6 separate regions of the Homo sapiens genome follow, and regions 1, 2, 3, 4 and 6 are each linked to region 5. The links are contacts of gene promoters, found by promoter capture Hi-C in blood cells and fetal thymus (Javierre and others, 2016). All regions are on one chromosome and are shown on one strand. Each heading gives the region's core, a stretch centred on a gene start or on the middle of the fragment in contact. The rest is flanking DNA. Distances are from core to core; before and after follow the strand shown.

Region 1 (3,726 bases), core at 788-3,287, 560 kb before region 5:
CAAGGCTGCAGTAGCTCACAGGTGTGAGCCACCGAACCCAGCCCCTCAGATTTTTCTACCTTACAGTCCATGAGGCCTGCCGAGGTCACACTCTAGGGAAAGAAGGAGCCTGCTGGAGCAGAGTGAGCCATGATTGCTCCATGGCACTCCAGCCTGGGCAACAGAGCAAAACTGTCTCAAAAAAAAAAAAAAAAAAAAAGAGAAAAGAAAAATGCTTTGATGGAAAAAAAAAATAACAAAAAAACCCAATGTGGCCAAGTCTTCTAAGTTCTGAGAAGCAACTGTAAGCATTTGAAAAAAAATGTAAAAGTTGTCAATTAAAAATGCTTGTAGTCTAGGCAACATAGTGAGACTCTGTCTCTAGAAAAAAAGAAATTAGGTCGGGTGCACAGACTCAGGCCTGTATTCCCAGCACTTCGGTAGGCCGAGGCGGGCGGATCACAAGATCAGGAGTTCGAGACCAGCCTGGCCAATATGGCGAAACCCCGTCTCTACTAAAAATACAAAAATTAGCTGGGCGTGGTGGCGGACGCCTGTAGTCCCAGCTACTCGGGAGGGTGAGGCAGGAGAATCACCTGAACCCGGGAAGCGGAGGTTGCAGTGAGCCGAGATCGTGCCACTGCACTCCAGCCTGGGCAACAGAGTGAGAATCTGTCTCAAAAAAAAAAAAAAAAAAAAAAAAGGCCGGGCGCGGTGGCTCACGCCTGTAATCCCAGCACTTTGGGAGGCCGAGGTGGGCGGATCACGAGGTTAGGAGATCGAGACCGTCCTGGCTAACACAGTGAAACTCCATCTCTACTAAAAATACAAAAAATTAGCCGGGCTTGGTTGCAGGTGCCTGTAGTCCCAGCTACTCGAGAAGCAGGTGCCTGTAGTCCCAGCTACTCGGGAGGCTGAGGCAGGAGGACGGCCTGAACCCGGGAGGCGGAGCTTGCAGTGAGCTGAGATCGCGCCACTGCACTCCAGCCTGGGCGACAGAGCGACACTCCGTCTCAAAAAAAAAAAAAAAAAAAAAAAAAAAGAAATTAGCTAGGCCTGGTGGCCCGTGCCTGTAGTCCCAGCTATGCAGGAGGCTGAGGCAGGAGGAACGCTTGAGCCCAGGAAGTCGAGGCTGCAGTGAGCCGTGATCATGCCACTGCACTCCAGCCTGGGTGACAGAGCAAGACTCTGCCATAAATAAATAAATAAATAAATGCTGGCAGCTTCTAAAGGCACTGTCTAGACTCTAGACGAAATAAAAGTCACTGGGCTCCAAGCTAGAGGCATCTAGGCACCAATAGCTTCCCACCGTGGTGACCGAAGTCTGGTCTCTGGCCCAGTCCGCATTTTCTTGCGCCCCTTCCCCCCCCCGGCCCTGGGCATTTTGTGGTGGGGAAGTCCATGCCAGCCCTAGGAAGCCCTCTCACACCGATCGGGGTCCCCAACTGCCCGGCCCGGCGTCTCGTGCTCGCCTTCTCCGCACCCACCCTCCCAGCAAGCTCTAGTGGCATTGTTACTTCACCGGTTTCTCGGAAACAGAAACTGTGGCTGGGGCAAGGCAAGCGCCGGATCTCGCAGGCGTGTGGGGGCCTGGAGGTCCCTTGACAGTTCTCCGAACCCGGCGCCGGCCTCGGGATGTGGCCGGGGTGGAGGCGGCCGCAGAGCCTCCGCCTGGGTGGCCCCGGGGCCAGGCCCCCAGTCGAAGTCCGGGCCCAGCCGCCCGCGCCCCCCACCCCTGGCCGCCCGGACCAGCGCCCGCAGGCTCCGTGAACGCCCAGGCGCCGGAGACCCCGGCTCCCCACTCGCCCGCCGCCCGTCCCCCCGGGGACGCGACCTGGGCGCAGCGGCGGAGCTCCAGGTCGGCCCGAGCCTACGGCCTCGGCTTCGTTGTCGCTGGGCCCCGCCGCCGCGTCACGCGCTGCGCTCGGTCCCCACCCCCGCCCCGGACCCCGCTGCCGTCCCTCTCGGCCCGGCCCCTAACCCTCGCCGCGGGAAGACGAACCTGGGATCCCCAGGGCCCGGGCCCTCGCTGCGGCCTGCGTGTCCTGAAGCTGTCTCCCCCTCCAGGCGGCGGGCGGCTCAGCACCCACACCTGCACCCGCCTCCTACGCAGGGCCGAAGCTCCCGAACGCGCGGCCGCTCCCCGGACCTCCGCACTAGTTCCTTCCTTATGCGGCCCAGGGCTCCACCCTTGACCCGCGGTCCCCTCCCTAGAGGCAGGACCTGACACCCAGTGGGCTCCTTCTTTCCCTAGGGCGTGACCTCCGCAGGCTTCATAGACTCAAAGGTAAAAAACCTGAGGTGCTAGGAGGTGGCTAACGCCTGTGATCCCAGCACTTTGGGAGGCCGAGGTGGGGAGGATCGCTTGAGGTCAGGAGTTCGAGACCAGCCTGGCCAACATGGCAAAAACCCTGTCTCTACTAAATATACAAAAATTAGCCGGGCGTGGTGGCACAGGTCTATAATCCCAGCTCCTCCGGAGGCTGAGGTGGGAGAATCGCTTGAACCTGGGAGGCTGCAGTGAGTGGAGACTGTACCACTGCACTGCAGCCTGGGCGACAGAGCCAGACCTTGTCTCAAAAAATAAAAAACCTCTGAGGTTTTTTATCAGGATTAAGTTCATGAATTTCTTCCATCAGTCAACAAATATTTAGCAAGCACCTTGTTCAGGCAACCACCAAGGGTTGTGCAGGCTGTGTACTGCACAAGGGGACTGGCCCAGGACACATTAATTGCAGTCAGGGCTACATGTTCTCCGTGGAAGGCCGTCCTTTTGCAGTTTGCCATGGGCTGGTGGGTGGTGATCCTGCCCTGGCCAAAGCCCTTATCTAGCTCACCCTTGACTGAGATAGCTAAATGTGAGGAGTACTTATTGAGCACTGGATTATAGTCCATGTTCACACTGCTATAAAGAAATACCCGAGACTGGGTGATTTATAAAAGGAAAGAGGTTTAATTGACTTATAGTTCCATATGGCTGGGGAAGCCTCAAGAAACAATCGCTGGGCGCGGTGGCTCACGCCTGTAATCTCAGCACTTTGGGAGGTCGAGGTGGGTGGATCACGAGGTCAGGAGATTGAGACCACCCTGGCCAACATGGTGAAACTCCATCTCTACTAAAAATACAAACAAAATTAGCCGGGCATGGTGGTGGGCGCCTGTAGTCTCAGCTACTCCAGAGGCTGAGGCAGGTGAATGGCGCGAACCTGGGAGGCAGAGCTTGCAGTGAGCTGAGATTGCGCCACTGCACTCCAGCCTGGGCGACAGAGCGAGACTCCATCTCAAAAAAAAAAAAAAAAAAAAGAAAAGAAAAGAAAAAAGGAACTTACAATCATGGTGGTGGAAGGTGAAGGGGAAGCAACGACCTTCTTCACATGGCGGCAGGAGGGAGCCGGGGAAACCGTCACTTGTAAAACCATCAGATCTCGTGAGAACTCACTCACTATCATGAGAACAGCATGGGGGAAAACCGCTCCCATAATCCAATCACTTCCCACCAGGTCTCTCCCTAAACACCCAGGATTACCATTCAAGATGAGATGTGGGTGGGGACACAAAGCTTAACCATATCACGCACCAACTGTGTGCCAGGCACCATTCTAAATGCTTCGGCTTCATCCAATGTCCGTAAAGCTGTTGGCAAAGAGTAACACCAGGAGGCAGAGCCTGGGTGGCACTGCTGATCTGGCACAAGGTGGACTCAAGAGCTGCCCAGAGATGTCCACACACCCCAACCCCAGCCTGTGG
Region 2 (3,450 bases), core at 743-3,242, 720 kb before region 5:
ATTACAGGCATGAGCCACTGCACCCAGCCATTGATGTTTTTGTTTGTTTGTTTTTGAGACGGAGTCTTGCTCTGTCACCCAGGCTGGAGTGCAGTGGCGTGATCTTGGCTTACTGCAAGCTCCGCCTCCCAGGTTCATGCCATTCTCCTGCCTCAGCCTCCCCAGCATCTGGGACTACAGGCGCACACCGCCACGCCCAGCTAATTTTTTTGTATTTTTAGTAGAGACGGGGTTTCACCGTGTTAGCCAGGATGGTCTCAATCTCCTGACCTTGTGATCCGCCTGCCTCTGCCTCCCAAAATGCTGGGATTACAGGCGTGAGCCACTGTGTCCGGCCCCATTGATGTTTTTTCTTATAGTCTGTGCCTTCTGGAGTTTTAAGAAATTATTCCCCACTCTTGACAACATATAGTCTCCCGAAGTTTTGTTCTGCATATTTACATCTTCATCTGGAATTTATCTTATTTATAGTATGAAATAGGAATATAACTATTTTTCCATATGGATCACCCATGTCCCAGCATCATTTTTTTTAAGACAGGGTCTTGCTATGCTGCCCAGGCACAGTCATGGTGCATTACAGCCTCAAACTCCTGGGCTCACCTCCTAAGTAGCTGGGACTACAGAGATGTGTATCTTTTATTTATTAAATAACACAGCGTCTTTTATTAAATCATTCATCACTCCCTCACTGATTTGTAATATTAACTGTCATTCACCAAAGTTCCATGTATGTGAGGACCAGCTTCTGCTTCTCTATCATTTTCCACTGTCTAGGTATTCCTGCACCAATATGACCAATTTCAATGACTGTATCTTAAATTTTATGACTTTTTTTTCCCTAACTCCCCAAACTTGTTAATTTTATAAGACTTGATATCTGACAGGGTCAAGTCCACCTTCTTGTCATTTAGAACTATACTGACTGCTTTTGGCCCTTTACTCTTCTACACAAATTTACAAAGAATTTCTGAGTTCCACAACAAATTCTATTGGAATTTTGATTGGAACTACATTAAATTTACAGATTAGGGAGTACAGGCATCTTTGCGGCATCTGTAATCTTATCAACCACAAACATAGGTATATGTCTTTGCTTATTAAAGTCCTTCTTTTGTGTCCTTCAGTGATCATTAGAAATATTAAAGCTGAATAGCTAATAAGCGGCCCTTCTAATACTATGCTTACTGTTAGACCCATTTCTATGTAAGAAAGAATCTTGGTGACCACTGAAGTCCACGAACACCAGGAACCGTGAAAAGGATACATGTCTGTACCACTCCGAACTTGAGTTGGGTGAAGAGTCGCACAAAAAAGTCCACAAAGAGACCCACCTGTGAAGAGCAAGAGATCTGTCACACAGCCTTATTTCCAAGTGTAGCACAAGTATAGTACAGGTGTGCTCCTCTTGAAGGCATCTCCTCCCCCACTGCACATACGGAGGCTGCTCACCAGCCAGCAGTACGTGAATGCACAGCAGAAAAGCGCAGAAGGAGGAGATCCCTTCTCCAGCCCAGTCCCACTGCCCCTCCAAAGAACAAAGGCAGAGAGTACAGCTAAGTTGAGTGAAGCAACGGAAAACAAAGAGGGAAGCAGGTGCAGAAAAAGATGTGAGACCAAGAAAGACTACTGACACAGGGGTGTCTACTCTTTTGGCTTCCCTGGACCACACTGGAAGAAGAATTGTCTTTGGCCACACATAAAATACACTAATGACAGCTGATGAGCTAAGAAAAGAAAAACTCAGAAAAATCTCATAAATGTTTTTAAAAGGTATATGAATCTGTGTTGGGCCATGGGTTGGACAAGCTTGCTTTAAAACACAACATTCATTTAGGTGTATGTGCTTTTTGCATGTTCCTTATTAGCAGGTTCTATTTTGTAAGTCATTATTTTGACTTGAAATCATCTTTTTTTGAGATGGGGTCTTGCTATATTGCCTAGGCTGGCCTTGAACTCCAGGGTTTAAGAGATCCTCCTGCCTCAGCCTCCCAGGTAGCTGGGATTACAGGCACACCCCACTGTGCCAGGCTTGACTTATAACCATCTTATAGTCCATAGTTACTCTGGGTAGAGAAAACAACCAAATTCCAGTATTCCACTCTCCAAAGTGCTCAGGGCTTAAAGGAGAACTAGAAAGACTTCTAATTTTATGGATTCAGGATCAAAGCTTCTTGCCTTTAACTCTGGCCTTCCCTCAAGCCAATGCCTGGAGGCTTTTTGATACTGAAGCCATAAAGTGGCCACACATCAATGGACAAGAGTTGGGAGTGCTATGTCATAAAGGCAGGTGTGCCTTCCTAAAATACAAAGGTAGGAGGTAAAGTTGCTTCAGCTTGAGTAACACTTATCTGAAATGCTTGGGACCAGAAGTGTTTTGGATTTCAGATTTTTTTTTCGAATATCTACATTATACTGATTAAACATCCCAAATCCAAAAATTTGAAATCCAAAATCTGAATGCGCCAATGAGTATTTCCTGAGAATCGTGTCAGCATTCAAAAAGTTTTGGATTTTGGAGCATTTTGGATTTTCTGATAAGGAACACTCAACCTGTAGTACTGACAAGTGGCAGCTCCAAAGAGTTTGATATAAAAGTAGCACAAACACTAACAACTAGAGGCCTAAGGACTATGCTTATTATAGAGAAATCTGCAACCAGAAACATATATAGCAAAATAAATACCCTGAGATTTCTTTTTTTTAATTTTTTTTTTATTTTTAAGGAGACAGGGTCTCCCTACGTTGCCCAGGCTGGTCTCAAACTCCTGGGCTCAAGCAGTCCTCCTGTCTCGGCCTCTCAAAATGCTGGGATTACAGGTGTGAGCCACCGTCCCTGGCCCAACACCCTGAGATTTAAATAAAACAATAAATCAACCCAAGTTTCCCCAAAATGGTATCCATCAGAATATCACTGAAGAGGGCTTCTGAATGCCATCAGTCTTACCTAGTAAGATGTTCCTTTACTTGTGGATTTACTATAGTAAAAATTTGATGCATGCCATGAAAATAAAAATTGTGGTTGGCCCCTGTGGCTATATTATACCGAACACATGTGTACATTTTCTAGGCATATCATGTCAAATTAAGTAGGAGGCTTGTGGCCAGTTCAAGATAAAGGTGGTCAACAGGCTGTTACTGAGGACAGATACCCTATCCCAACACTGTACTGACCGGAATCAGATTTGACATGGATCTTTTTGACTGATGCTGATTTTTCCAGCTTCTCTTCCTCATATTTAACAATGTGAAGTCGGCAGTTTTGGTTCCAGACTTTTTGCTATCCTCATCTTTGGCCATGTTTCCAATCTTGCCTTGTCTTTGATTCACCTGTGAAGTTGCTGCCTCCACCAACTCTGTTCATACGGGCATATCCCTTCACTCACAGCTGCTGGCTCTATCTTCTAGATAACATTAACGACGTACGGGGAGGAGCCCAGGATAGCACCA
Region 3 (3,817 bases), core at 469-2,968, 660 kb before region 5:
AACAAAAATCCTGGAGCCACCCCGATTCCCCTTCTCCCTCACACCAGTGGCTGCTCTGACAGGCTCTGCCTCCCACACGCATCCAGGATCTGACCCCTGGAGCACTGGGCGGAGTGGCCCTCACCTGCCACCTCCCAACTGGTCACCCTTATTCTGCCTCGTCCTCACGCCCGACAGCCTCCTCTTCATGCGGCGGCAGGGTGATCCTGTAAACACTGAAATCAAATCATGCCCTGCCTCAACTCTAATGCCACAGAAGCTCTCCAGCCCCCTCAATGCCCCGTGAGCCTTCAAGGCTGTAGGCCAGAGGTTAGCAAATTACTGCCTGGGCCAGTGGTCTATTATGTGAATAAAGTTATATTGAAACAAAGCCCATTTGTTTACAGACTGTCTGCTTTCCAGCTGCAATAGCAGAGCTCAATAGCTGCAAGATACCTTAGGCTGCAAAACCTTTTTTTTTTTTTTTTTGAGCCGGAGTCTCACTTTGCCACCCAGGCTGGTACAATGGCGTGATCCCGGCTCACTGCAACCTCCGCCTGCCTCCCTGGGCTCAAGGGATCCTCCCACCTCAGCCTCTAACAAGCTGGAACCACAGGCACATGCCACCACGCCAGACTAATTTTTCTATTTTTTGGTAGAGACAGGGTTTCACCATGATGGCCAGGATGGTCTCGAACTCCTGACCTCAGGTGATTGGCCCGCCTCGGCCTCCCAAAGTGCTGGGATTACAGGCGTGAGCCACCACACCCAGCCCCGCAAAGTCTTTAAAATCTGGCTGCCAGTTATGGTCCTCCCCAATTCCTCTTCCCCTTGCCCACTGTCCTCCACACACACCAGCCCCCTGGCTGCTCCTCCAAATGGCACACACGACCTCACCTCAGCGCCTCTGTGCTGCTGTCCCCTCTGCCTTCAAGTCTTGCCTCCCACATCACAGTGAGCCCTCCCTGCCCACTGTCTCTCCAACTGCAGCAACCTGGCCTCTCCTCACTCTCTTTGCCCTGCACTTGCGGCCACCTAACATAGTGAAGAAATTAGTGTATTTCTCCCTCCAGTGGCCTAGGAGCCACACGAGGGCAGGCTGGTTTTTTTTGTTTGTTTGTTTCCCTGCTGGATTTGCAGCCCATAGAACAATGCCTGACCCCCAGCAGGGGCTTGTAAATGCACATTGAATAAATGACAACCGTGCTAGGCACCTTGCAGCCTTCAGCAGGCGTCCTGCCATTTAATCTGCACTGCAGCCCTGGGACTTAGGTTCCCTGTTTTAGAAATGAGGACAGGAGCTTAGAAGGGCCTGTCCCACCCAAGGCCTCAGAGGGAGCACCCCAGGGCTGGCTCCACAGCGCAGACTCCTAACCAAGAACACCCCACCATCCCCTCTTGCCCAAGTTGACTTGAGGCCGCTCAATCCACAGGAGACCTTCCTGCACCCCTGCCCCTCACGCCGGAGCTCTTCGGTCCATTTCTCCGCTCCTCGTCCGTCTCCCTCAGACTCCCCCCTCCCACTCCACCCCCACCCCTGTCCACTTAAGGGGGCTCACAGCCTCCCTCCTCTTGCCACCAAAAGAGTCTGAGGTCAGTTTCCTGCCCTCATGGATCTGCCCTCACGTGCGTGGGTCCTCCTCGGGTCCTCCTTCACCCAGTCGGATTTGAATCTAGACGGGGGCTGGGACCGCTAACGATCCCCGCAGGTCGGCAGGTCGCGGGCGGGAGGGGACGTCGGAGAGCAGAGCGTGCTGCCCCGCGCTTGGCCCCGCCCAGCCCTGAGCCGTGGGCGTGGCCACCGACGTCCTGGTACAGGTTTTGCCGGGTCCTCCGCAGGCAAGGCACGTGGTCCCAGGGCAACTTTTGCACGTGCAAGATGAGCGACATTCTCTTGGCCATCAGGTCCCCGGGAACCTCCTCCACCCTCTGCCCCGAATCCTGTGGCAGCATCACTGGGGTCTGGGCTTCCTCCACCAGGCGTGCCTCCTCTTGGCTCCTTCCCGCACCTAGAGCTGCCTCCTGGAGCCCCCGCACATCTGGGATACCCCCAGCCATGTCCCCACCACCTATGCCTCTTGGGGCTGCAGGACATGCCCCCGGCTCCCACTGGTAGGAACCCCAGGGGCAGGACATCCGGGTCATGGACACTCACATCCTCACCCGTTCCCAATAGGTGCGATGTCCCATCCAGGGATGTCTCAGATGCAGCTGGCAAACCATGGCCCTCATGGCTGAGGACACACCCGTGATGGGACCCCAGGATCTGGGGGGCAGCCACCACCCTGATCACCACCTGGAATGCCTCATCCTGGACCTCCTCCAATGAGCATGTCCCCCAAGGGGTCTCGGTCTGGATCTCCCATGGGTCACTCACGTCCTATGCCTCCATGGTATGTGTGGACCTCCTCCACCGATGCTGCCTCATGGATACACTGGCCCTCCCCAACACCCACCCTATGGCTTCCGGGGGGGACTCTCCCTCCACCCAGACCCACTCCGGGGCCTCCAGTTCCCCCTCAAGGCCCACTTTGGGGCCCTCTCCCTCAGTAAATTCACATTCTTCTTCCTCCTGTTATATCTTCCCAATATCTTTTTGATTCCTTGGACCAGAGATGCTGCAGCTCCTTGCAACTAAGGCACAAATCCCTTTCAGCCTTCCCATCTTCCTTTTTAATGCCATTTTTTTCCCCATAGAAGGTATTTCTTTTTCATGTTGGTCCTAAGTATTTTGCAAATGCAAAGGAAAATAAAACTATAACAAATTTCTTGTTAAAAGAAAGAAAGAAAGAAAGGCTAGGCACAGTGGCTCACACCTGTAATCCCAGCACTTTGGGAGGCTGAGGTGGACGGATCACAAGATCAGGAGTTCAAGACCAGCCTGGCCAACATGGTGAAACCCTGTCTCTACTAAAAATACAAAAATTAGCCGGGCATGGTGGCGGGCACCTGTAATCCCAGCTACTCAGGAGGCTGAGGCAGGAGAATCACTTGAACCTGGGAGGCAAGGGTTGCAGAGAGCCAAGATCCTGCCATTGCACTCCAGCCTGAGCAACAGACCAAGACTCTGTCTCAAAAAAAAAAAAAAAAAAAAAAGAAAAAAAGAAAAGAAAAGAAAAGGCTGGATGTGGTGGCTCATGCCTGTAATCCCAGCACTTTGGGAGGCCGAGGCAGCCGGATCACTTGAGGTCAGGAGTTCAAGACCAGCCTGGCCAACATGGCAAAATCCCATCTCTATTAAAAATACAAAAAGTAGCTGGTGTGATGGTGTGCACCTGTAATCCCAGCTATTCAGGAGGCTGAGGCAGGAGAATTGCTTGGACCTGGGAGGTGGAGGTTGCAGTGAGTGGTGATCATGCCACTACCCTCCAGCCTGGGTGACAGAGTGAGATTCTGTTTCAAAAAAGAAAAAAAGAAAGAAAAGAAAAGAAAAAAAAGAAAGAAAAACTCTCCCAGCCTTCAGGCACCTCAGAAACTGGCTGGACTCCACCTTAATACCCAAGCTTTGCCGTGCCGTCAGCCTAGCTCGATCACACTTCCTTCAAGGCTGCAAAGGTCCGTCCACTTTCCACCTCCCAAACCTTTGCCCACATTGTTCCCCACTGTGCCCAGCCATCCCACTCCTTCCTCTGTCCAGACTGTATGTTTTCTCCTTTCTAAGCACCTGCTGGGAGAGGAAAGAGCACTCAGTCAGAAAACCTGTGATGAACTCCTTCTGCTGGCCAGGCGCAGTGGCTCACACCTGCAATCCCAGCACTTGGGCAGGCTGAGGTGGGAGGCTCTCATAAGCCCAGGAATTCAAGACCAGCCTGGGCAACATTGCAAGACCTCATCACTA
Region 4 (3,546 bases), core at 1,004-3,503, 540 kb before region 5:
TCAGTTGTGGACATGGTATATTCAATTGTGCACATAGAGGGAGGGAAGGGCCAGTTCCTCCAAGTACCACTAGGTGTCAGCATTGTCAAGGCTGTCCCCAAGCTGTGTCTGTCCTGCCCATTTCTCTGCGGAGGAAAAGTCGAATTTGAATCCAAGTCCTGGTCTCTTCCCATTGTTTGGGGCTGAGCCTGGCTCTTCAGGGGCTGGGATTTGGTGCTGCTCTGACCCCAGAGGCTGTATGAGAAACATTTAGGAGGCTAGGTCTCCAAGGCCTGGGAGGCCCCTGGGTCTCACCCCAGGCCACATAGCAAGGGCTTTGGATGGCTGGACTCCCCTCCAGAGCTGGGCCCCTCCCAACTAGGGAGGGCTGGTGGTATCCTGGGATCTAGCTCCAAGTAGGTCTGGGAGTCTAGAACCCCCCCAAGTCCATCTCCACCTCGGCAGAGCCCTGGGCCTTGCTTGATGGTGCCAGGCCTGCAGTGAACACAGAACACCCAGACAGATCCAATCCTGAGTTCCTGGTGCATAATGACTTTGCTATTTCCCACCACCGTAAATTAAACCTAATCTTGTGTTGACTCTGCTGAACAAGGAGAATAATGAAGAAGATTAAGATGAGATGGTATTCATTCTCCTCCAACAAAAGCCAATTAATTGTCAGTAGGATTACTGCCTGGAGCCAGGAGCTGCTTGCTAGGAGCTCTGCAGACAGGATGGAACAGGGCTGAGGGCCATTCGCTAGGGTTGCCACTGGGGTCTGCTGGTCATGCAGCAGGAAATATTGCAGGTAGATGTTAGGGAGAACTGCCAGAATGAAGGAGGGGGCTGGCACCAAGGAGGAGGGTGCAAAGAGCTTGGAATCACTCACAGAGGTGATGTTTCTAAGGCGTGGAGGGGAACGCTGTGGAAGTTCCCAGCCACCTGACCATGTCCATCCGAGGCCCCCTGGGACCTTCCCCTGACCATGTCCATCCGAGGCCCCCTGGGACCTTCCCCTGCCTTTCTGCGGTCACCTTTGATGAATGAAGCTGCATTCAGGGGTCTCTGGCTTCCTCCCCACTCTGCTTTTTTTCCTCCCTTCCTCTCCTAGGAATCAGGGAGGCCATTTGTCCAGTGTTAACAGCTTGGGTTTAGAGACAGAAACATGGCCAGGCGCGGTGGCTCACGCCTGTAATCCCAGCACTTTGGGAGGCTGAGGCGGGTGGATTGCTTGAGGTCAGGAGTTCCAGACCAGCCTGGGCAACATGGTGAAACCCCGTCTCTACCAAAAATACAAAACAATTAGCTGAGCCTGGTGGCACACGCCTGTAGTCCCAGCTACTTGGGAGGCTGAGGCATGAGAATCGCTTGAACCTGGGAGATGGAGGTTGCAGTGAGCAGAGATCGCACCACTGCACTCCAGCCTGGGTGGCAGTGAGATTTTCTCTAAAATAAAAATAAAAATAATTAGAGACAGAAACACTTGGGCTTCACCTGGCTTTGCCCCTTGTCCTCAACCACACAAATGGAACCTACGATCCTCACCTGCCAACCTGGTTTGATACTCCCAGGCACTAATGTGCCTCCAGTTCCTGCACCCACTAGATTCTTGGAACAAGACAGTGAAGCTGAATGGAGTGGCCTGACTGCTGTGGGCCGTTGCCAGAAGGTGAGGGAACCAACATTTGTTGGTCTACTGCTGCATTATCTCATCGACTGCCTACAGCAGCCTCCTCGGGAGGCTTTATTTTGTCATCACAAAATTTATTGAAGAGGAAACCGAGGCTCAGAGAGGTGGGGCCCTTGGTCGAGGTCACCAAGCTGTAGGCTGCAGAGTTGGCTGGGACGGGGCTTCTGTCGCCATGGCCCCCAAAGCTTGAGCCCTTTCCTCATCTGCACATTGCTTCGTGCACATGGAAGGCATTCAGTGTGTGCTGGCCGGATGAATGAAACGCTCATCAAATGCTATTTCTGGTCCAGTAAGTTCCGTTTCAGACTCTCCCACATCCTGATAACTCCCAGAAGTAAATGGATTGTGTGTGATTTGTGAAATTCTTCTTGGTAATTCTTGGCAACTCACCTACCTCACTACTACTGTGAAGAAAACTCTACCCTCCCATCCAGATCTAAGTTTGCTTCATTTACTCGGATTGATGAGGTTTTTTTTTTTAATTTTTTTTTATTTTTTTTTATTTTCTGAGCATGGCAAAAGTAGCCTCAAAGTCCAGTTTTACAATCTATGCTATCTCAGCACACGCTGAGCACTCACCATGTGATAGGTGTGTTCAAAACATCACCTGTGTATGGTTTTATTTAATCCTCCAAGCACATCTGTGTGCTATTATTCCCATTTCAGAGGCTGAGATGAAACTGAGGCCCAGAGACGTGCATTCTCGCCCCAGGTCACACAGCAAGGGCTTTGCATGGCTGGAATCCCCTCCAGAGCTGCCTCTCCTCGCCCCCTGTCACCACCTGCAGGCTTTCCTGGGTGAAGTGATTCTTGCGGAGGGATTCTAGTCCTCTGTGCAGACAGGAATTGTGGTGGAGGCCGTGGGCTTCCGGGTTCAGTTGGAATTGGTGGAGTTTTCTGTGTCCCACAAATCACACACTTAGACTCAGCCTCAGGAATTGATCTTTGGTTCATATGTGGAAGGATTTACCACTTAAGCTTTTTTTTTTTTTTTTTTTTTTTGAGACGAAATCTCACTCTGTTTCCCTGGCTGGAGTGCAGTGGCATGATCTTGGCTCACTGTAACCTCCACCTCCCAGATTCAGGTGATTCACCTGCCTCAGCCTCCAAGTAGCTGGGATTACAGGTGTGCACCACCACACCTGGCTGTTTTTTGTATTTTTAGTAGAGATGGGGTTTCACCATGTTGGTCAGGCTGGTCTCGAACTCCCGGCCTCAAGTGATCCGCCCGCCTCGACCTCCCAAAGTGTCGGGATTACAGGCGTGAGCCACTGTGCCCGGTCACTTAAGCATTTACTCAGCACCTTCTGCGTGTCAGCACCTTGTTATGCTTTGAGGATACAACAGTGAACCAATGAGGTCCTTGTCCTCTAGGAGCTCACAGACTAGAGGGAGAGAAGGATCTGGGTTCCCAGTTCTGACCCTCCCCAGGTGTGTGACCAGTTAGTGCCTCAGTTTCCACATCTGTAAAATGGGGATGATTTTGTTACTTACCTGATAGGATTGTTATGAGAATCAAATGAATTAATATAGGTAAGACACTTAGATCAAGGCCTGCACATAAAAGGTGCTACATACAAGTTTGTTAAATAAAATGGACAAGTCTGGCAACTATAGTCTAATAATAGTAAAAGGGTGGTGAGGGGAAGCCTACTGAATTTTAGAGGAGGGACATCTAACATAGACCTTGATCAGGAAGGTTTCCTGGAGGAGGCGGTCCATGGACTCTTGACCCAAGTGATGGTAGGAGGGTGAATTACTTCCCTAGCCAGCTTGTAGCTTCCTGGGCTGTCACTGGGAGCTGCAGTACTAACTGGCCTTTTCCTGGGGCTTATTGTCATAATTTTTCAATGTGCGAAGCACTGTAGTAGCATCTG
Region 5 (3,638 bases), core at 985-3,484:
TCTTAACTGGATATGCTGAACATTTATTGAAGACTTAATGGGTGGAATGAATTGTATTAAGGGCATCCCATCTCTAATTTCAGGAGAGTGAATCTATCTCTTGAGCTGCCTGATAATTCGGTGCCTCCCTCACAAGAGCTCTTCCAGGAGTTCACTTCACAAATGTGTACTGAGTTCCCACTCTGTGTTAACCAGAATGGTTCCAGCGATGTCTGCAGGAAACAACGTCTGCTTGGAGGAGTTCAGAGGGTACTGGAGGGAGGAAGCACAGTTGGAGCTAGACGCTTTCTTCAGGAGCTTACCTGTAAAGGGCAAGAGAGAGATGATGGCAGTTGGAAGGAGATGTGGGAGCCAGTGTTTTTTCCTTTTCTCTTTTAGTTGGGAAAGATGTCAGTGTACTTGTAGGCTGTTAGGAATGAACCAATAGAGAGGGAAAAGATAGATCCAGGGGGCAGGGGAGGTGTAATTAATTACAGGAGTCAAGACCAAATGGGTGAGGGGAACACAGAACCAGCCAGAGCTTGGGAGGAGGTGACTTTAAATATGAGGCTGGGCCGGGCACAGTGGTTCCTGCCTGTAATCCCAGTGAGGTGGGAGGACGGCTTCAGCCCAGGAGTTCGAGACCAGGTTGGTAAGATGCAGTCTAAAAAAAATAAGCCAGGCGCTGGTGGCGCACACCTGTAATCCCAGCACTTCGGGAGGCCAAAGCAGGTGGATCACTTGAGGTCAGGAGTTCAAGACCAGCCTGGCCAACATGGTGAAACCCCATCTCTACTAAAAATACAAAAAAAAAAAAAAAATTAGCCGGGCATTGTGGCACACGCCTGTAATCCCAGCTACTTGAACCTAGGAAGCGGAGGTTGCAGTGAGCTGAGATTGCACCACTGCACTCCAGCCTGGGCAGCAGAGTGAGACTCTGTCTCAAAAAAAAAAAATAAACAGGGCAGGCACGGTGGCTCCGCCTGTAATCCCAGCACTCTGGGAGGTCGAGGCGGGAGGATCACAAGGTGAGGAGTTCGAGACCAGCCTGGCCAATATGGTGAAACCCCGTTTCTACTAAAAATACGAAAAAAATTAGCCGAGCGTGGTGGTGCACGCCTGTAATCCCAGCTACTCGGGAGGCTGAGGCAAGAGAATTCGTTGAACCCGGGAGGCGGGAGGTTGCAGTGAGCCAAGATTGCGTCACTGCACTCCAGCCTGGGCAACAGAGTGAGACTCCATCTCAAAAAAAATAAAAATAAAAATAGGCTGCACGCTGATGACTCGTATCTGTAATCCCAGCACTTTGGGAGAGCAAGAGTGAAACTTTGTCCCAAAAACATGGTTTTTTTTGTTTGTTTGTGACAAGGTCTCACTCTGTTGCCCAGGCTGGAATGCAGTGGTTCGATCTCGGCTCACTGTAACCTCCACCTCCCGGGCTCAAGCCTCAGCCTCCCGAGTAGCTGGGATTACAGGCATGTGCCACCACGCCCGACTAATTTTTGTGTTTTTAGTATAGACAGAGTTTCACCATGTTGGCCAGGCTGGTCTCCAACTCCCGACCTCAGGTGATCCACCCGCCTCGGCCTCCTAAAGTGCTGGGATTACAGGTGTGAGTCACGGCGCCCAGCCTCAAAAACATAACCTTAAAAAGAAATTTTTGAGACAGGGTTTCATCCTGTCACCCCGGCTGGAGTGCAGTGGAGCCTCCACCTCCTCGGCTCAAGCAACCATCCCACCTCAGCCTCCCGAGCAGCTGGGACTACAGATGCGCACCACCACTCCCGGTAATCCCGGTTTGTTTGTTTTTTAAATTTTTAAATAAACACGAGGATAAGCGGGGATCGTGGCCCTCGCCTGGGGTCCCTGCTACTTCGCAGGCTAAGGTGGGAGGATCTCTTGAGCCCAAGAGTTCGAAACCAGATTGGGCAAACCTCGTGTCAAAAATATATGTGATAGTCAGGTCCTCCAGGCCGCACCCTAGATCACAGGGTTGTTGGGATGATACAATATGAGGTAAAAGAACGTGAAATTCACACCAGAGCGCTCGAAAGTGCCACCCTAATCGCAGGCTTCCCAACCTAATCGCAGGCTTCCCAACCTAATCGCAGGTGCCCCACCCTAAACGCAGGCTTCCCAACCTAATCGCAGGCGCCCCACCCCAATCGCAGGCTCCCCACACTATAATCAGACGCCCCGCCCGCCGCTTCGACCTGGCGCATGCGTGGTGCGCACGCGTCCCGTCTCCTCGGCCGACAAGCTCTCGCGAGACGAGCCGTGCAGGCTGAAAAAATGGCGCCACCCAGTACCCGGGAGCCCAGGGTCCTGTCGGCGACCAGCGCAACCAAATCCGACGGAGAGATGGTGCTGCCAGGCTTCCCGGACGCCGACAGCTTTGTGAAGGTGAGTTCGCGGGGCCTCGGGGGTACCAGGAGTCGCCCGCGGCCGCCGGAAGCCGACTGGGCCCTCTGGGCAGCCAATGCCCGCCCGCCGTAGTGGAGCCCGAGCGAGGGTCGCGGGGCCCCTGTCCGCGCTGGGCGCAGACTCTCCTGCACCCTCCGGGGATGGGGCCTCGGAAACGGACACTGAGGGGCGTCCCGCTTGCGAGCCTAAGTCCATGGAGGCCCAAATGTGGAAAGCCGTCTCGCATCCTGGGAAAGGCTTCCTTGCCACCCAGACGTCCCTAGCCCTTGCGACGTCGCGCTCGCCACGCCCTAGCCACCCGACCAGCTCTCCGCAGGGGCTCGGCTTCTTCGCGCTCCCCACACTTGCCTGGAGTTGTCTCCTCCCGCGGCCAGTATGGCCCTTCTCTTCCTCTGTTTCTGAAGTCCAGTCCTACATAATTTTTAACCCTGAGTTAAATGTCACCTGTTAAAGCCCCATTGCACGTTTATTAGTAACTCCTGGAAGGTATACAGGGCGTTCACTTAAGATCTTTGTATAACTTAGCTTAAATATGAGCAAACGTACAACTAGGCTTAAGGTGTGCATAGCTCTTACAAAGCAATGAAACTAAAATAATTTGTAAATTAACCCTATAAATTTACAGAAATTCCACTAACGTTGTATCTTATCTAATTTGCTGTTAGCTAATGCTATTGATTCATTAACATGGCTCTCAATAGTTCCTGGACCACTAACTGTGGTCCTGGTTGTGTGGCGGTCATGCTCATAAGCTACCATGTTCCCCTCCGTGACTTAATTTCCCACCTCCTTTCTCTGCTTTTTTCTTGGGAAATGTTTATTCACAAAACTCACAATGACGTTTTAGGCCTTCACATGATCAGCCATCATTTATGTCACTTCACGGCTTTTTTTCGTTACCTCACAACAGTTAAAATAGAGAACCACTTGACACTAACTGAACAATAAACACAAATCCAGTTTTAGATAGTAGCTGTTATAAATTTGTCGTCCAAGGATCTAGGATAAGCTTGTATTGTTTTTAGATGCTCATCCAGATGAAAACACAAAAACAAATTCCTGTAGAAAGCTCTTGGATCTGAACTTGAGTCGTAATAATAACGCTTATGTGCCAAGAACTGTCCTAAGTGCTTTTATTAGCTTATTCATTCTGTCCTCACAAAAACTCTGTGGTGCAGGCCCTTTTTATTTTTCCTGTTTCTCAGAGGAGAACACTAAAGTCCAAATAAAGCAAT
Region 6 (3,462 bases), core at 801-3,300, 750 kb before region 5:
AGCAGCCAACACACACAGACTTGGTAAGTGCACAAAAAAGCTACAGCCCCAGGGGCATGGGGAAGGTGAAGGAGCTCCCTTGGGGCATCTGAAAGATGGGGAATGGGGGTTTAATTGGGGAATGCAGCTAAGAGGTAAGGTGGCAGCTCTCTACGTGAAATAGGCTAGGATACAGACATCAGCGTCAGACCTGGGGATCCAGTCCTGGTTCCGCCACTTAGGCACCTAGTGGCCTTGGGCAAGTGGCATAGCCTCTCGGGCTCAGTTCTGTTCCCTTGTAAGCAAGGACAATGCTATCTACCACCTGGGGATGGTGATCAAAATAAAATCATTTCCATAAAGTTCTCAGCACAGTGCTAGGCATGCTACAAGCAACCAATAAAGACAACTATGATGGCCATCTTGCAGGGACTCAGCACTGCACACTTGTTATGTGTTGACACGTTCTCAGCTCACTTGGGCTCCACAACAATCCTGCAAGGTAGGCAGGGAAGATTTCTACTTTATTCATTCATTTATTTATTTATTTTTTGAGACCGAGTCCCACTCTGTTGCCCAGGCTAGAGTGCAGTGGTGCGATCTTGGTTCACTACAACCTCCGCCTCCCAAGGTCAAGCAATTCTTTTACCTCAGCCTCCCTAGTAGCGGGGATTACAGGCACATGCCACCACACCCAGCTAATTTTTATATTTTTAGTAGAGACAGAGTTTTGCCATGTTGGTAGGGCTGGTCTCAAACTCCTGGCCTCAGGTGATCCACCCACCTTAGCCTCCCAAAGTGCTGGGATTATACGTGTGAGCCACTGCACCCGGCCGGTTTTTAACATTCTTTCTCATTTTACACACAAGGAAAGTAAGGCTGCGAAGAGGTATGCAACTGGTTTGTTTTGGGCTACAGTACTGGTCTCTCAGCCCTTCAAATTTAGAGTTTTCCCCCAGTATACGTTGCATTGAATGGTAATGGCTAACACTGAGTTCAGTGCTTAGCAAACAGGCCATTCATTAAACATAGACAGACTTGCTGCCTGTTATTTCCCTTTTGGGGGCCAGGGAAATTGTGACCTTGGTGGCTCGGTCACTTGCCACTTGCCACGTCCTCAGGGAAGGATGTAGAAGGCATTGAGGGAAACTGACTATACCTCCTTCACCCCCACCTCCCTTCCTCCATCGGTCAAGTTGCCACGGGCACAAGCCCAGGAAGGGCAGGGGGATGTTAACAAACTTCAGACACGAAGAGTCTGAGCATCTATAAACAGCAACGGAAGAAATGAAATTGGCTGCGTCCTCTAAGCCTGTCCCCGCAGCATGCTGGAGGAGGGTCGCGGGGGACATGGAAGAGGAGGAGCTTTGGAGAGAGGATGCTTGTGCTCCCCCGCCTTTTCTTGCTATTTCTATTTGGGGGTTGGATTCCTGGGAGCTTCATCACATTTGGTTCTCAGCTGACTTTATATACTAAAAAATAACTTCCTTTCGCCTGACCATGGAGAGGGACTGCCAGGGGTGAAGGCAGCCCTGTCTGAGGCCAGAGGTCTGCCCACGTGGCGGATGAGGCAGGTGTGAGGCCAGCTTGAGCATCTGGATCCATTTGTCTCGGGCTGCTGGCTGCCTGCCATTTCCTCCTCTCCACCCTTATTTGGAGGCCCTGACAGCTGAGCCACAAACAAACCAGGGGAGCTGGGCACCAGCCAAGCGTCACCCTCTGTTTCCCCGCACGGGTACCAGCGTCGAGGAGAAAGAATCCTGAGGCACGGCGGTGAGATAACCAAGGACTCTTTTTTACTCTTCTCACACCTTTGAAGTGGGAGCCTCTTGAGTCAAATCAGTAAGAATGCGGCTCTTGCAGCTGAGGGTCTGGGGGGCTGTTGGGGCTGCCCAAGGCAGAGAGGGGCTGTGACAAGCCCTGCGGGATGATAACTTTAAAAGGGCATCTCCTGCTGGCTTCTCACTTGGCAGCTTTATCACTGCAAGTGACAGAATGGGGAGGGTTCTGTCTCTCCTGCGTGCTTGGAGAGCTGGGGGGCTATAAAAAGAGGCGGCACTGGGCAGCTGGGAGACAGGGACAGACGTAGGCCAAGAGAGGGGAACCAGAGAGGAACCAGAGGGGAGAGACAGAGCAGCAAGCAGTGGATTGCTCCTTGACGACGCCAGCATGAGCTCCTTCTCCACCACCACCGTGAGCTTCCTCCTTTTACTGGCATTCCAGCTCCTAGGTCAGACCAGAGCTAATCCCATGTACAATGCCGTGTCCAACGCAGACCTGATGGATTTCAAGGTAGGGCCAGGAAAGCGGGTGCAGTCTGGGGCCAGGGGGCTTTCTGATGCTGTGCTCACTCCTCTTGATTTCCTCCAAGTCAGTGAGGTTTATCCCTTTCCCTGTATTTTCCTTTTCTAAAGAATTTGCTGGACCATTTGGAAGAAAAGATGCCTTTAGAAGATGAGGTCGTGCCCCCACAAGTGCTCAGTGAGCCGAATGAAGAAGCGGGGGCTGCTCTCAGCCCCCTCCCTGAGGTGCCTCCCTGGACCGGGGAAGTCAGCCCAGCCCAGAGAGATGGAGGTGCCCTCGGGCGGGGCCCCTGGGACTCCTCTGATCGATCTGCCCTCCTAAAAAGCAAGCTGAGGGCGCTGCTCACTGCCCCTCGGAGCCTGCGGAGATCCAGCTGCTTCGGGGGCAGGATGGACAGGATTGGAGCCCAGAGCGGACTGGGCTGTAACAGCTTCCGGGTAAGAGGAACTGGGGATGGAAATGGGATGGGATGGACACTACTGGGAGACACCTTCAGCAGGAAAGGGACCAATGCAGAAGCTCATTCCCTCTCAAGTTTCTGCCCCAACACCCAGAGTGCCCCATGGGTGTCAGGACATGCCATCTATTGTCCTTAGCTAGTCTGCTGAGAAAATGCTTAAAAAAAAAAGGGGGGGGGGCTGGGCACAGTGGCTCACGCCTGTAATCCCAGCACTTTGGGAGGCCGAGGCAGGCGGATCATGAGGTCAAGAGATCAAGACTATCCTGGCCAACATGGTGAAACCCCAGCTCTACTAAAAATACAAAAATTAGCTGGGTGTGGTGGCGGGCACCTGTACTCTCAGCTACTTGGGAGGCTGAGGCAGGAGAATCACTTGAACCCAGGAGGCAGAGGTTGCAGTGAGCAGAGATCACGCCACTGCAGTCCAGCCTAGGTGATAGAGCGAGACTGTCTCAAAAAAAAAAAAAAAAGGCCAGGCACGGTGGCTCACGCCTGTAATCCCAGCGCTTTGGGAGGCCAAGGCGGGTGGATCACGAGGTCAGGAGATGGAGACCATCCTGGCTAACACGGTGAAACCCCGTCTCTACTAAAAATACAAAAAATTAGCCAGGCGTGGTGGCAGGCGCCTGTAAGTCCTAGCTACTCCGGAGGCTGAGGCAGGAGAATGGCGTGAACCCGGGAGGCGGAGCTTGCAGTGAGCAGAGATGGCACCACTGCAC

The links. The method cuts DNA at HindIII sites, captures the fragments that hold promoters and counts their contacts. A CHiCAGO score of 5 or more calls a contact.
Region 1: a contact is called between the fragment with the promoter of FBXO6 here and the fragment with the promoter of EXOSC10 in region 5, in 11 of 17 cell types (naive B cells, activated CD4 T cells, M1 macrophages and 8 more). The highest score is 9.1, in naive B cells.
Region 2: a fragment that was not itself captured here is called in contact with the fragment with the promoter of EXOSC10 in region 5 in 1 of 17 cell types (erythroblasts); the score reaches 5.7 in erythroblasts.
Region 3: a contact is called between the fragment with the promoter of C1orf167 here and the fragment with the promoter of EXOSC10 in region 5, in 4 of 17 cell types (M0 macrophages, erythroblasts, naive B cells and 1 more). The highest score is 7.6, in M0 macrophages.
Region 4: a fragment that was not itself captured here is called in contact with the fragment with the promoter of EXOSC10 in region 5 in 7 of 17 cell types (endothelial precursors, naive B cells, fetal thymus and 4 more); the score reaches 8.6 in endothelial precursors.
Region 6: the fragment with the promoter of NPPA here is called in contact with the fragment with the promoter of EXOSC10 in region 5 in 2 of 17 cell types (naive B cells and total B cells); the score reaches 8.4 in naive B cells.

Annotation. Positions count from the first base shown.
Region 1 is chr1:11,662,511-11,666,236 of GRCh38, reverse strand. FBXO6 (F-box protein 6) reads right to left here and starts at 2,037. Exons shown (of 6, transcript NM_018438.6): 1 at 1,982-2,037. FBXO44 (F-box protein 44) reads right to left here. Exons shown (of 6, transcript NM_033182.7): 6 at 2,910-3,726. RefSeq lists an enhancer at 1,462-1,511 and silencers at 1,632-1,701, 1,752-1,971. The HindIII fragment of the contact is 5,022 bases long and covers 1-3,540 here.
Region 2 is chr1:11,817,372-11,820,821 of GRCh38, reverse strand. It overlaps CLCN6 (chloride voltage-gated channel 6), which reads right to left. Exons shown (of 23, transcript NM_001286.5): 5 at 1,268-1,334. Among named protein-coding and RNA genes, the nearest start is that of CLCN6, 13 kb to the right of the region's middle. The HindIII fragment of the contact is 361 bases long and covers 1,812-2,172 here.
Region 3 is chr1:11,760,094-11,763,910 of GRCh38, reverse strand. It overlaps C1orf167 (chromosome 1 open reading frame 167), which reads right to left and starts at 1,718. Exons shown (of 21, transcript NM_001010881.2): 1 at 1,606-1,718. It also overlaps the pseudogene LOC101060126. The HindIII fragment of the contact is 5,648 bases long and covers 1-3,484 here.
Region 4 is chr1:11,639,135-11,642,680 of GRCh38, reverse strand. No RefSeq gene overlaps it. Among named protein-coding and RNA genes, the nearest start is that of FBXO2, 14 kb to the left of the region's middle. The HindIII fragment of the contact is 793 bases long and covers 1,857-2,649 here.
Region 5 is chr1:11,098,465-11,102,102 of GRCh38, reverse strand. EXOSC10 (exosome component 10) reads left to right here and starts at 2,234. Exons shown (of 25, transcript NM_001001998.3): 1 at 2,234-2,382. The coding sequence starts at 2,272. EXOSC10-AS1 (EXOSC10 antisense RNA 1) reads right to left here and starts at 2,428. Exons shown (of 2, transcript NR_135062.1): 1 at 2,289-2,428; 2 at 1-302. RefSeq lists enhancers at 1,945-2,505, 2,795-2,854, 2,506-3,068 and a silencer at 2,692-2,893. The HindIII fragment of the contact is 4,706 bases long and covers 1-3,414 here.
Region 6 is chr1:11,846,371-11,849,832 of GRCh38, reverse strand. NPPA (natriuretic peptide A) reads left to right here and starts at 2,050. Exons shown (of 3, transcript NM_006172.4): 1 at 2,050-2,271; 2 at 2,394-2,720. The coding sequence starts at 2,149. It also overlaps NPPA-AS1. RefSeq lists an enhancer at 1,224-3,014. The HindIII fragment of the contact is 12,440 bases long and covers 1-3,462 here.